Regions from separate parts of the Homo sapiens genome. Here region 1 is linked to region 2. The links are contacts of gene promoters, found by promoter capture Hi-C in human tissues and cell types (Jung and others, 2019). All regions are on one chromosome and are shown on one strand. The core of a region is centred on a gene start or on the middle of the fragment in contact, and the rest is flanking DNA. Distances in the headings are between cores, read along the strand shown. Region 1 has its middle 61 kb from the start of LINC01742. Region 2 holds the start of PCK1 (phosphoenolpyruvate carboxykinase 1).

The links. Contacts are between HindIII fragments. The study calls those that stand out against the background at their distance.
Region 1: a fragment that was not itself captured here is called in contact with the fragment with the promoter of PCK1 in region 2 in 4 of the 25 tissues and cell types used here (adrenal gland, bladder, heart right ventricle and 1 more).

The regions. Positions count from the first base shown.
Region 1 is chr20:57,939,674-57,946,113 of GRCh38, reverse strand. No RefSeq gene overlaps it. Among named protein-coding and RNA genes, the nearest start is that of LINC01742, 61 kb to the left of the region's middle. The HindIII fragment of the contact is 4,050 bases long and covers 421-4,470 here.
Region 2 is chr20:57,556,092-57,562,512 of GRCh38, reverse strand. It overlaps PCK1 (phosphoenolpyruvate carboxykinase 1), which reads right to left and starts at 1,403. Exons shown (of 10, transcript NM_002591.4): 1 at 1,310-1,403; 2 at 878-1,141; 3 at 261-442. The coding sequence starts at 1,101. The HindIII fragment of the contact is 15,943 bases long and covers 1-6,421 here.

The DNA of each region.
Region 1 (6,440 bases), core at 1,196-3,695, 380 kb before region 2:
TGAGCCCTGGGAAGATGGCCTTTAAAAACTGCATCCATGGTGTCCCTTGTCCTCTGACTTCTGATTAGGTTTGTCCAAAATGAGCACTTGCAGAATGGAGGATGAGAGGAGAGACAGGAGGTTGTGTGTCCTTCTCCCCAGGTTGTCACGCGGCCTGGCCTCCAAGGGCCACAGCTCCTATGGTGGACAGGGACAAGGGGACCCAATCCTGGGTCCAGCTCCTGCTAGGTTTCAGTGAGGCAGTTTCTGGCCCTTGCCAGCTATTGCTGGTCTTAGCTGCATTCCCCACTCGATGGTCCTCTCTCTGCTTGTATCTCTGTGCATGTTGTGTCAAGCACTTCAGTTTTCTCTTGAGGGAAATCTCAGCTGTTTCTTCCCAGAGACATGGCTGGGACACCTCTTGACTGGTCAGGGTGATGAGTGGACCCAGTCCAAGGAGTCTGGGTAGAAACACATCAGTTACCCTGCAGGAGGGACAAGGGAGCTGGGATACTGACATGCTAACTCCTGGCATTCATTGGTTGGGCACTGCTTTTCCTGGGCACCTTCAGCTTGCCTCATGTGTGGGTACAAGAGGCTTGAGCAGCCACTGATGGCTCTCAGGCAAAGACACTCAGGGGCCGCCACTGGCACTAAAATGGTAATGGCCGAGCGGTTAATGGAGCACTGAGGAGCTGAATTTTTAATTGTATTTAATGGTAATTAATTTAAATGTAAAATGCCACATGTGGCTAGTGATGCCTGTATTGGAGAGTGCAGGTCTCAAAGGGACTATAGGTACAAAATAAATAATCACACAAGTGATTATGTAATGACAGTCTTGCACCTCATAACAGCGTTTTGGTTAATGATGGACCGCATACACAATGGTGGTCACATAACATGATAATGGAGTTGCCAGATTCCTGTAACCTGGTGACATCACAGCCATCATAACTTCGGAGCAGGACGCATTCCTTGTGTGTTTGTTGTGACACTGGTGCAAACAAACCTACCGTGCTGGTAGTCATATAAAAGTCTAGCACGTAAAATTATGTGTGGTACATAATACTTGATAATAAATTACTCTGTTACTGGTTTATGTAATTACTATATTATACCTCTTATTATTTAAGCATGTACTCCATATATATATATATACACACATATAAATATATGTATATATAAAGTTTATGTATATATAAAGTTACCTGTAAAGCAGCCTTAGGCAGGTCTTTCAGGAGGAATCTGGAAGAAGGCATTGCTATCATAGAAGATGGCAGCTCCATGCGTGTTATTGCCCCGAAGACCTTCCAGTGGGACAAGATGTGGAGGTGGAAAACAGTGATTCTGAGGATCCTGTCCCTGTCTAGGCCTAGGCTCAAGTGTGTGCTTGTGTCTTAGTTTTTAACAAAAAAGTTTAAAGAGTAAAAGTAAAACTTAAAAAAATATTTAAAGTAGAAAAAAGTTTATAGAATAAAGATATAAAGAAAGAAAACACAACTGCAAGCTTGTTGAAAGAAAGAAAGAAAATATTTTTGTACATCTGTACAATGTGTTTGTTTTAAGCTAAGTGTTACTAGAAAAGCATCAAAAAGTTAAAAAATTAAAAAAGTAAAAATTGACACTAAGCTAAATTGATTTATTATTGAAGAAAGAAAAATATGTTTTTACACATGTTGCGTTGCCAAAGTGTACAGTGTTTATAAAGTGTGAAGCAGGGAGCGGTAATGTCCCAGGTCACCACATCTCTCCACACTCACTCACTGGTTCGCCCACACCAACGTCCAGTCCTGGGAGCTCCATTCATGCAGGTATCCTATACAGGTGTAGCAGTTTTAAATTTTTTATACCATATTTTACTGTACCTCGTCTGTGTTGAGATAGGTTTAGATACACAAACACTCACCATGTGTTGCGACTGCCTGCAGTATTCAGTACAGCCATGGCCGCACAGGCTACACACATAGCCCGGTGTGTAGGAGGCTACACCATCTGGGTTTGTGCAGCAGGCTGTATGATGTTTGCACAATGATGAGGTCACCTAACAACTCATTTTGCAGAACACATCCCTGTCGTTAAGTGACATATGATGGCATCGCTAAGATCACCATTTTGCGCTCTCACTGTGGCCTCTATAATTTCTGTCTGAACAGGGTTACCAAGGAATGCCTCATTCAGCTGAGATCTGAAAGGTGGCTCTGAGGACGGAAAGGAGAGAGGTGGGGGAGGACCTTCCAGGCAGCGGAACAGGGTGTGCAAAGTCACGAGGCACACGGAGGAAATGGAGGGAAGACTAATTAGACGCAGAGTAATGAGTGCAGAGAGGGAGGACCAGAGACGGACAGGTAGGTCAGACCTAGGGGCCTTTACACCATTAGTCCCATTTTACAGGCAGGGAAAAGGAAGCTTCAAGAGGGAACATACACATCCGGAACCACCCGCTAGCATGGGGTGGGGCAAGAATTTGCACCTAGCTTCATGTGGGGCCAAAGCCCGCTCTTAATCACAGCTATGCCAGCCCCTGGAAGGCGATGGCTTCCATGCATAGCAGGAACTACCAAGATGGGAGAAGCATCTGCCACCCTGCAGGACGGACTGAGTCGGGCTTGGAAACAGACATCGGGGACCTGTCCAGGCCTGGCCTCCCTCAGGAGGCAGCCGCTTCCCTGGGATGGAGGCTGGAAAGCGAGCCCCAGGCTGCCTAGCTGGAGGCTGACAGGAAGTGAGGCGTGGCAGCTGGTGAACAGGAAGAGGAAGGGGCAAGTGTGCAGAGGGCAGAGGTGATATCTGGGAACTGTGAGAGGGAGTCGTCCTTCCTCTGGACCACTCTTGATGGGGCAAAGGGAAGAGGTGATGTTCAGGCTTTAGAGTCTCAAGACCAGGTTCAAATCCACTCCCTAGCCCTAGAGTCAGCCTCTTCTCAGTTCCGAGCATCAGTCCTCTCAGCTGTAAAATGGGCCGAGGGCCATTGTAAGGATTACCTAGCACAGCAGTTCTTCAAATGTGTGGCCCCGGGACCCCTGGGTATTCCTAAGGCCACGATTTGCCTTTTAGTCCTCATTCTCTTGTGAGAGTACGGTGGAGTTTTCCAGCAGCTCCATGAAATGCGAGGACATCATTGCTTTGCTGGCTGATGAAATCAATCTGTGCTGTGATTCCCGTGTTTAAAAAATTATTCCTTTTTATTTCTAACACAGAAATATTGATAGATACAACCTACATAGACAAAAGCCCTTTGGGGTTCTCGTTAATTTTGAGGAGTCCTGAGACCAACAAATTTGGGACCCTCTGGTGTAACACTTACCACAGGGATCTGGTTAGCACCCAATGCCAATAAAACTGGAAGCTGTGCCCGTTTCACAGATGTGGAATACAGTATGCTGGTCATGGCTCCTGGGTTGCAAGCAACAGAGAGCACCTTTGACTTGCTTACGCAAATGAGGATTTCCTAGAACTCTCTTAGTAAAGAAGCTGGAAAACCAGACTGGAGCAGAGGGAAGCACGAGGCAGTGTCCAAGGCCCGAGGTGCTGACACCATGGCAAGGTCTGCTTGAATGAAGCCACGTTTGGGGTCTCGCTGTCTGATGGAGCTGTTAAGGAGAGACCCCACGCTGTCCTGGGCCAGGCCAGTGAGATTCCTCCCCCCGGAACTTGGTTCTTAAGCAGAGAGACAACAACACTCCTGTCTAGAACACAAGGAAGCCCCTTCCCCAGGATGCAGGAATCCCATTTTGTCAATGGCCTTTCAAGAAAATGGGAGGTTTCCCACAGCCCCCTAACCTCCATGGCTCATGGGGCAAATGCTTAAACCAATCCCTCCCCCAGAAGGTGCCTGGGTGTTTAACAGAAGACTGATCCTGTCTGCATTTTAAAATTCACGATGTATCTCCCTGTCCCTACCGTCCGGGAGCCTTCTCTGTAAACAAGCCTCAGCTCCCACTCCCCTCAGCACCCCCGAATCATGCCAGTTTTTGCGGAAGGCCGTGGGCACACTGCCTCCCCTGCAGTGGGAAATATTTCACTGGGTTTATTGGAGAAATTGCCTGTCAGATATGATTATTTGTTTGGAGTTGTGTATATCAAATTCTGCTGGAGCCAGCGTGCTGTCACGCAGAGTTTATAGGTATATGGCAGGCGCAGTCCCATTAAACACTCCTTAAAAATATGCTTGGTTAAAAACAACAACAGCAACCACCACCGCCTTGTTTATAGTTAATGTAAAGAATCACAAAATCTTTCTTCCCTGGGGACTGCCTGTGTTTGGCTGTGTTTACTGTCTGTGCAGTGGAGCCGATGACTCTGACCTCACCCCACATGGCCGCCCCCGCCAGGACACCTCTCCAGGAGGGAGGCCAGACGACAGACAGCCGTGCTCTGTAATTCATTCCCGCTTTGCTGTGATTGCTTAATCACAGCAGGTGAGATGGATCCAGACTGACTAACCCTGAAAAAGGAATCCATCTGGCTCAGCTCAAATGATGTTTTGGGCAGGGATTTGATGGGCAGCATTAAAAGGTTGAAGAAATCCATCTATCCACGAGCCCTTGTGAGTCCAGTTCTGTCTATTGATGACGATTTACAAGGGAAGGGTATTTCACTGGGGTTTTGCTAGCTAGGAGACCCTTGGGTCAGGGCTGAGTCCTCCTGGCACGTCCTGCCTCTTCCCAGCCCTCCCCCACCCTGCCTGGCCTGGATCCCTCTCCTGCTGGCCACGTATCCCGCCACGGCTGCAAGGATCCGATGCCCGTGTCTGGTTGTAAGCAGCTGATAATATGCCAGCGCGCCCCTCCCTTGGTCCACATTTGCTTTGGGCATGAGCCCGTACAGGATGCTGGCACCTATTGATCAGAGTGACGTTGGTTCACGTCTGCTCAAAGAGGTTAATGTCCTTCTTTTGACAACTCATTTAGCAGGGACAAGGTGCCTACCTGATGATGGCAGGCTGCTCACTGGGCCCCTCCCCTAGATCCATATAGCACCCTTTGTGCTTTCACTGTGCCAGGATTTGAGAAAGGGGCTGCTTTGCCTTTCCCTGTCATTCCCTGTGATGGCAGCGGGTCTACACTTGACATGAGCACAGCCCATGTATGGGTGCTTGCCCCTTCCGCAGAGGAGGAGTGTGGGTTCAGGCAGACAGCAATGCTGAGAGGGACCTTCCACAGTTTCTCAGGGCAGGGAACAGCTACCACACTCTTCACCAGAGGACAGAAACAGAAACTCTGTTCATGAATCCGTGCATTTCTGTTGAGGGCTCCCAAAGATACAAGACGCCAAGATACAAATCTGTGATGAAAAAGGGAAGATATTTAGGGAGCGGTCAGGGAGCTCCTAGGAGCCCCAAACCACAGCACCCAGAACTGCCTACTTTGCTGACGCGCTTGAACGCCACCTCTCATTCTCATTCTCTTGCCTGTATCTTTAGCCCCAAAATCCTAGGAAAGGGAGGGCATGGTTCTCACTCTCATTGCCACTGGCAGAAATCTCCCCTAACCCAGCCCACCAAATGCTGTTGAGAGCTCTCTGGGCACCAGCCCTGCCCTGGGCTTTGGGGATGTGCAGATGGACACACAACTACTGCGGCCTTCAGGGAGCTCTTGGACCAGCAGGGAGTCAAGGCAAGCTCCCAGAGCAGCCCATAAGAGAGGCCCCTCCTAGAGTGGTGGGCTCTGGTTAATGGAGGGATTGAGCATGGGGAAGGGGTACCCAGTATTGTCCCCACCCCCTCACTCCTGTTTGCCAGTATCCTGGCTCTTTCTTCAGGAAACTACCCTTCCCCATTTCGTGAAGGTGGTTGGGGGTCAGGCGAATGTGTGTGCAAAGTGCTACCAATTAGAACCTCCAACTCCAAACCCCAGGCCAGACCCAATTCATGTCCTTTCCTGAGACTTCCATACTTGGACACTGAGAGATAGAAGTTCTTTCTAGTGTTTAGAGCCCAAGGATATGGGACGCACAATGTCTGTGCCCATGTGCCCCTGTACAGTGGGCTGGGCCTACTCACAGAGAATCAGAGCAGAGAGAGAGAAAGAGCATACCCTAATAGCATCCACCGAGCTCCTAGATCAAACCATGCCTGAAGGTCTCCCTCTGGATTCTTCAATTATGTGTGCCAATAAATTGTCCTGTTCTTTATTTTTTTAAAAATCATGGTGAGTTAATTTTCTGTCTCTTGCAATGGAGAGACTCCTGATTGACATAGGGGACCTAAGTGAGCTTTGTGGAGACATGTCATTTGGATGGGCCTTTAAAACAGTGGAGATTTGGGTAGGGATGAGAGCATCCAGACAGAGAGTAACTGAAGCCAAGATGTGGACAGGGAAAGTGGAGGGAGAGTACAGGGGAGTCCCTGCCTTTGTTCGCCATGGTATCTCTTGTGGCTCAGTATAGCTGATGCACAAAATCAACAAATGACAAGGCTTTAGTTGAACATGGAATGTGATTTGATGACTGTGTATAGA
Region 2 (6,421 bases), core at 154-2,653:
GTTTTCATAAATGTGCAATTGGGTCCCACCAAGCTATTTAAAACCCATATGCATGGAACTAGTTTTCACGTTTGTATAAGACAGTCTGTAAAAGCAGAAGAGGGATGTGCATTTTCAATACATTGCCAACTTCATGTATGGAACTGAAAGACATCTGAGGTGGTGGGAGCTTCCATTATTGTTTGAATTACCATTAGGATAGATGTAAATAAGAAAAGGCTCTCTGCTGTTTTACCCAATCAAATCAATGTTCCGCTCACCTTTCATGCACCCTGGGAACCTGGCATTGAACGCTTTCTCAAAATCCTCCTCTGACATCCAGCGACCGAGCTGGCTGAGGCCTGTTTTGGGGATGGGCACTGTGTCTCTTTGCTCTTGGGTGACGATAACCGTCTTGCTTTCGATCCTGGCCACATCCCTGGGGTCAGTGAGAGCCAACCAGCTGCAAAAATCACAGGCTTCCTTTCAGCCAAGCACCACGGGCAGCGAACCATCTCCTTCAGTACCGTGGCTTTCCATGCCTAGCAGAGTGCTGAGCACGCTAACAACAGTCCATCAGTGTGAACACACAGACCATCTAAGACATGGCCAGGTGGACATTTACTCCACTAGGACCTGGTCTGTAGGAGAGGGGCTGCCTTTTTTTTAATCAGGAATCTAGTTGGCAGAGCTTTTGTGCACACACCTCATTTAAAGCTTGGGCTGGCCCACTAATGTCACAAAATTCAAGTCTGTATGGTTCTGACCATTGCATTCATCTTCTCAAGAGTCTGAAACTACCCGAAGGCCTTCATTCACCTTTCTCCACCAACTCCCAGGAGACGCAGGGGAGCCCTGCCTGCAGGGTGCTGGGACAGGCAGCGGGGGCCGAGCTTACCAGTTGTCATACTTCTTCAGCCGCCTGAGGATGCCCTCTTCCTCCATCTGGCCCAGAAGCCGCCCATTCTCCTCCTCAGAGCCGTCACAGATGTGGATGTGATCAGGCTGACACAGCTCAGCGTTATTCTCGAGAAACTCCCTCACTGCCTGGGGTAGGCTGTCCAGGCTTCCCTGGACAACTTTGGCCGAGAGGTTCAGGCCGTTTTGCAGCTGAGGAGGCATTTCTGCAGAGTGCTGCTAAGGGGCACGAATGTGAGGTCACCTGAAATAGAAAACGCAAGCGTCCTGAACAAAAACAACAACAGACACCTTCAAACACATTCGACGGCCTTTTGCCAGGGCTGTGCATTGCCAAATAGTTATTGCTCTCAGGAAAAAAATGAGTTCATCTTTGTAATTTTTCAAAATGTAAATGCAAAGCTCTACTTACCTTTCTTCTCTTTGGATGATCTCGAAGGGAGATCCACAGGTTTCTTTCCGGGCTCTTCCCGCCAGCAAGTTTGTGTTCCCAGTGGGAAGGCCGTGCTTGGTGGCAGAACCTCCCAGCTTTAAATACTGTGGAAAAGAATAGCCCTGCCCCTCAGCTGCACCCAGGGAGGCTCGCCACTGACGTCAGGGGGCAGGTCTCTGGATCACGGCCAGGGTCAGTTATGCTTTGGGCCAACTCACTGCAACACGCCCCAGGGAGATAATCATTGAACAGATAGTTGTTAATGAATGCTGGGAGACTTCGAGCCCTCAACCAACCATAGTGAGTTTTGACACAACTTCCAACTGACTAAACCTTGACCCATTTTACTGCTGTTGCAAAACACAACACCCTTTTCTTAACAGGCAGGTGGGTCAAGGACAAGGTTGGCCGGGGCACCTGCTAGCAGCACATTTTGTGTACCAAGAGCTGCTGGTTGGCAAAACACCACAGCTATAAGATGTCACCCCATAGTCAAAGGTCACAGTCAAAGTTCATGGGAAGGATGCACCCTAACTTGGGCAAATATGTGGCTTATTGGCAAAGATTGGAAATGCCTAACCTAACTGGGGGCTAATCACTGTATTGATTGTCTGCTCTGTGCCGCCCCCGCCCCCTGCCCCGATGTAAACTCCATGAGGGCAGGGATTTCTCCCTATTTTGTTCATTTTTCTCTCTGTAGTGCTTGGCATAGAGTAGGCACAGGATGCACACATGCTGAGCACTGTTCTAAGAGCTTGGCATCATTACTACCCTCTGAGGTGGAGGCTATGAACAACCCATGTACAGATAGGGAAACTGAGGCAGAGATTGTGTAGCCACTCACAGCCGGCTGGTGGGTTGCAGAGTGAGGATCTGAACATGAGCAAGTTGGGCCCTGGAGCACCACGTCTCTCCCTGTGAGGTACCGCCACCTTTCCAGAACCTTCCCTGTGTCCTCCAGGGAGTTCTGGGCTGAGTGCAGTTACTCCTGCAGTCCACTGGCCACTGTTCTCTTCCCTGGCAAGTCTTAGAGTTTAGGGAGTGGAGGGGGCTTGGCAGTTTTGCTAGATTATATGCTTAAGCAATGAAACCTTTATAACAGTTGTAAAGAATTTGCTTTGCAAGCCATCAGACCTTCAGTCAAATTTAATGAGCTATGGAAGCTGCTTGCTGGAGTTTGGAGAACACAGGGTGAAATGTCAAAAGAACGGGGCTAGGTCTCAACCCCCCACAGCCAGCCCACACTTCCATGGAAGCCTCTCTACCTAAGATGAGGTCAGGTGGGGACTTGGCCCATCTCCCCGCTGGGGTGTGGGATGATCCCTGAGATAATCCCAGGACTGGGCTTAGAAAGAGCTGCTGTGGCAAATACAAGTCACTGTGAATGGCAGCCTCCGACCAAACTCACTTAGAGAACCCTCCTGGGGGCTTGGGTCACACTGTGTTGGGCGTGGGTCACACATCATCAAGTTCCACCAAAATTATCAACCCATTGCTATGTTTCCTGTATTCAGATTTTATTCAGCCAGTTGTGTCTTTCAGGATAAATATGATATGAGGTGCTTTTTGTTTCATTTGAAGTTATTCCCCGTTTAGGTCACTGGCATTTGTTATTAGTGGTGCTGTCATCCATACATAAGATCGTGTTGTGTCTAAACCCAACAGTGACGTGATGCTCAGTAGCCGAGGCCACTTCGTTAGCATCTGACATCAGTGAATTAGCCATCCCGATGCATGACCACAATTCCGTGACACACACATCACTCCCGGCGAGACTCATCCCACCAAATTGGTAGAAAGTCCCATTTTGCTGATAAAACGGTAACAGGTTTGAGTACCTGAAAGAGCACATAGATTGAAAACAAAAAGGGAAAGCAGAACTCATTTGGAGTCCTAAATGCGACCCATCCATTCCAGGTGCTTATGTTCTGAGTCTTCTGGGAGAGAAACAGCTAGTTCAAGTAAAACGTCAGAGCAGTGAGTCACCAACGACCTTCATCCGATCCTTTCATTACCTGCATTTACAGCGTGGAAGGACGGTAATGATTCCCCCGCAACTGTCCCTTGTCAAAATGTTAAAAAGCAAACATTGGTTTACAGACTTGCCTCAAAGGACAGAGTTCTCTGGAAGAAGAATCATGATAAAGTAGAGGGGTTTTGAGGACACACAGGCAAAAGTATGGGTACAGTTGCCTTAGGTCTTGGCAGATGATGCCCTCGGGCCCCCATTTTTCCTGTCCTTAGAGACTCCCTGCCCCAGTGGGGACTCATTGACAACAATTTCAAGGGGCTGGCCGGAAGCATGGGTCTTCCTCATCTGACTGTCAGCTTATTTGTAAGTAAGCCTCAAAACTAACTACTGTCTGTTGGTTTCAACAGGGACCCGAAGAAGCAGCCAAACAGCCACCCTGCTGGTGGGATCCCTGAGGACCCCCAGTTAACCCGCCGAGTGGACTTTGCAGTGTGTGCTCAGTGGGTGGGGCATGGAGGTGGCTCACGCTGCCTGTGAGTTGCGTTAGTTGTTTCTGGGACGGATGCCATAGAGACCTCCTAGCTTTTGGGGAGCTCCTTAGGCTCAGATTTTCTTAGGTCCAAGGCTGCTCTTCTTTTGAAAAATGTATAAAAAGTTGAGCCCAGATACAAAATTGGGGAAAGAAGGAGAAAGAAAGATCGGACACTAAAATAGTTTCAAACTAAAAGGGACTTCCTCCCTGCACCTTCCTGGGGCCACTCCATGTTTTGCAGTTACTCAGGGATATCGATTGCTTTTTCCCTGCTTTGTGACCACACCAGCTATATCCTGATACGAGATAATTAGACGGATTTAAAAAGGTAAAGAGAAGTTTTGCATCCAATTTGCTGCAATCTCATATTCTCTAGGAAGCCTCAGCTCAAACGTTTATTAAATGCTTGCTATGTCTCTAGCACCGGGCATAATAATCTTCATAATACTGGGCTTTCTCTGCATGCCAGAAATGGGATGCATTCCATGATTTTCTCCGATGTAGGTACCTTTGTTATCTTTCCCATTTTATAGATGAGGAAACTGAGGGTCTCAACCCAGCTGGGTATAGACGAGGGTCGAGAAAGGAATCATATTCATTCCTTCAACAGTGAATGAGCAGCTACTATTGCCAGTTCTCTAGATGTGTCCTCAAACTGAGAGTCCTTTTCCTGTCTATACTCCCAGCACATAGTCATCAAGCACTTGCTGAGCACCTACTTCATACTGATCCTAGGGTCCACTTCATAGTCTCAAGAGCATGCCTCACTCTTGGAAGGGGGCTCTTCTCTTGGAGTTTCATGCTCTGGGGTCACTGTCTTGAAATTCATAGTGATCTTCTAAGTTTGTGTCACTTCTACATTTGAAGGGATGATGGGGCACGCGGCGTGGCTCTTGTACAGTTCTGCCTCCCTCAGCCTTTCTGCTTCTAAGGATGGAGCCTCAGCTGCCCGCTCCCCTGTCTCTTCCTGCTAGGTGACCACTGCTGCCCTCCACCCCGACTAGGGTCTGAGCACAAGGGCAGGGAAGTCAGGTCAGAGTTGTGCGCCCATGAGGGTCTGCACTCATTCCCATGAGCATCCCCTGCCCAAGGGAGCGCAACATCAAACAGCAAATGCAAAACATGCCACAACAGATAGAGAGACCATGGGAGAAAGGAACACAGGTTTTTTTTTTTTTTGTCCTTTTTGAACAAGGGGCCCTGTGTATTTTGCACGTGGTCCCACAAGTTATGGAGCTATCTTGCCTAAGAAACAATTTCCTCAAAGACTTAAGATGGAGTTGGGGAGACCCCCACCCTGATGTTAGAGTATTTGGTTTATCATCAGACCTACATGATGGTCCAATTAAAGAAGTTGTACATGGCCAAGTGCCACATAGACAGTTCCAGTGGGAGAGCCAGGGCCACTGTCTGCTATCTAAAATGTAATCAAGACATTGGTACAGTGCTTTGCAGTTAGTGAGAACGTTCCTCGAACTGCTCATACAAGGCCCCTGCAGGAGGGGGCCAGACAGTCATGGCAGACCCAAGGAAGCAAGGGGAGTTCCAAACACAAGTCCTCTGGGTCCCCCAGGCCAGGGTGCGCCTGTCCACCACACTTAGTCTACTGAGCATGTGTTGGGGAAGAAGTGGTCAGTGACAGGGCCACCTCTCAGGTGTCATTTTGCACCTGTGATGGACTGTAGCCCAATTTCTCCCAGCAGCCTACCATGAAGGGTTCTGGAAGAGTGGGTGAACTGGACTTTGACGAGCCTGTAGAATGCCATGCAGGATGGAGCAGTGACAAAGACAGCAGAAAACACGCGCAGGGACAGCCAAGATGCAGCAGGTGTGACCGGGGAGGTGGGTGTGGGGAATGGCTGCATTCCAGATGAACAACAGAAAACAAAGCCATGACTTTGGCGGGGTCTCACAGTGGAGGATTCAGAGGACAGTCTGATTGCAACACATGTTGGTGTTTCTTGGTTACCTGGAGGCCAATAAAAGAACAGAAATTCTGGGCCGGGTGCGGAGGCTCACGTCTGTAATCCCAGGACTATGGGAGGCTGAGGCAGGCGGATCACCTGAGGTCAGGAATTTGAGACCAGCCTGACCAACACGGAGAAACCCCATCTCTACTAAAAATACAAACAATTAGCCTGGCATGGTGGCGCATGCCTGTAATCCCAGCTATTCAGGAGGCTGAGGCAGGAGAATCACTGGAACCCGGGAGGCAGAGGTTGTGGTGAGCCGAGATCTCACCACTGCATTCCAGCCTGGGTGACAGAGTGAGACTCCATCTCAAAAAAAAAAAACAAACACACACTCTCAACAGCAGTGCTTGGAGGTCATGTAAAGTCAAGGTCCGTGTTTTCCCAACTGGGCTCTAAGGGATTTAGGGGGATTCCACTCACCCCTCACAGAGGAGAGAGAAAGGCTGTAGGAGACGGGCTCTAAGCCCTCCTCACCCATGGCATCTCTGATTTGACCTGTTGTACATTTCCGGCTTCCATATTGGATGTTTGTGGTATAAGGAATTTCACAGCTGGAACATGTTGAAAATCCACACAGCACAACCAAGTTGTGCTGAAGAGTTGAGAACCAGAGA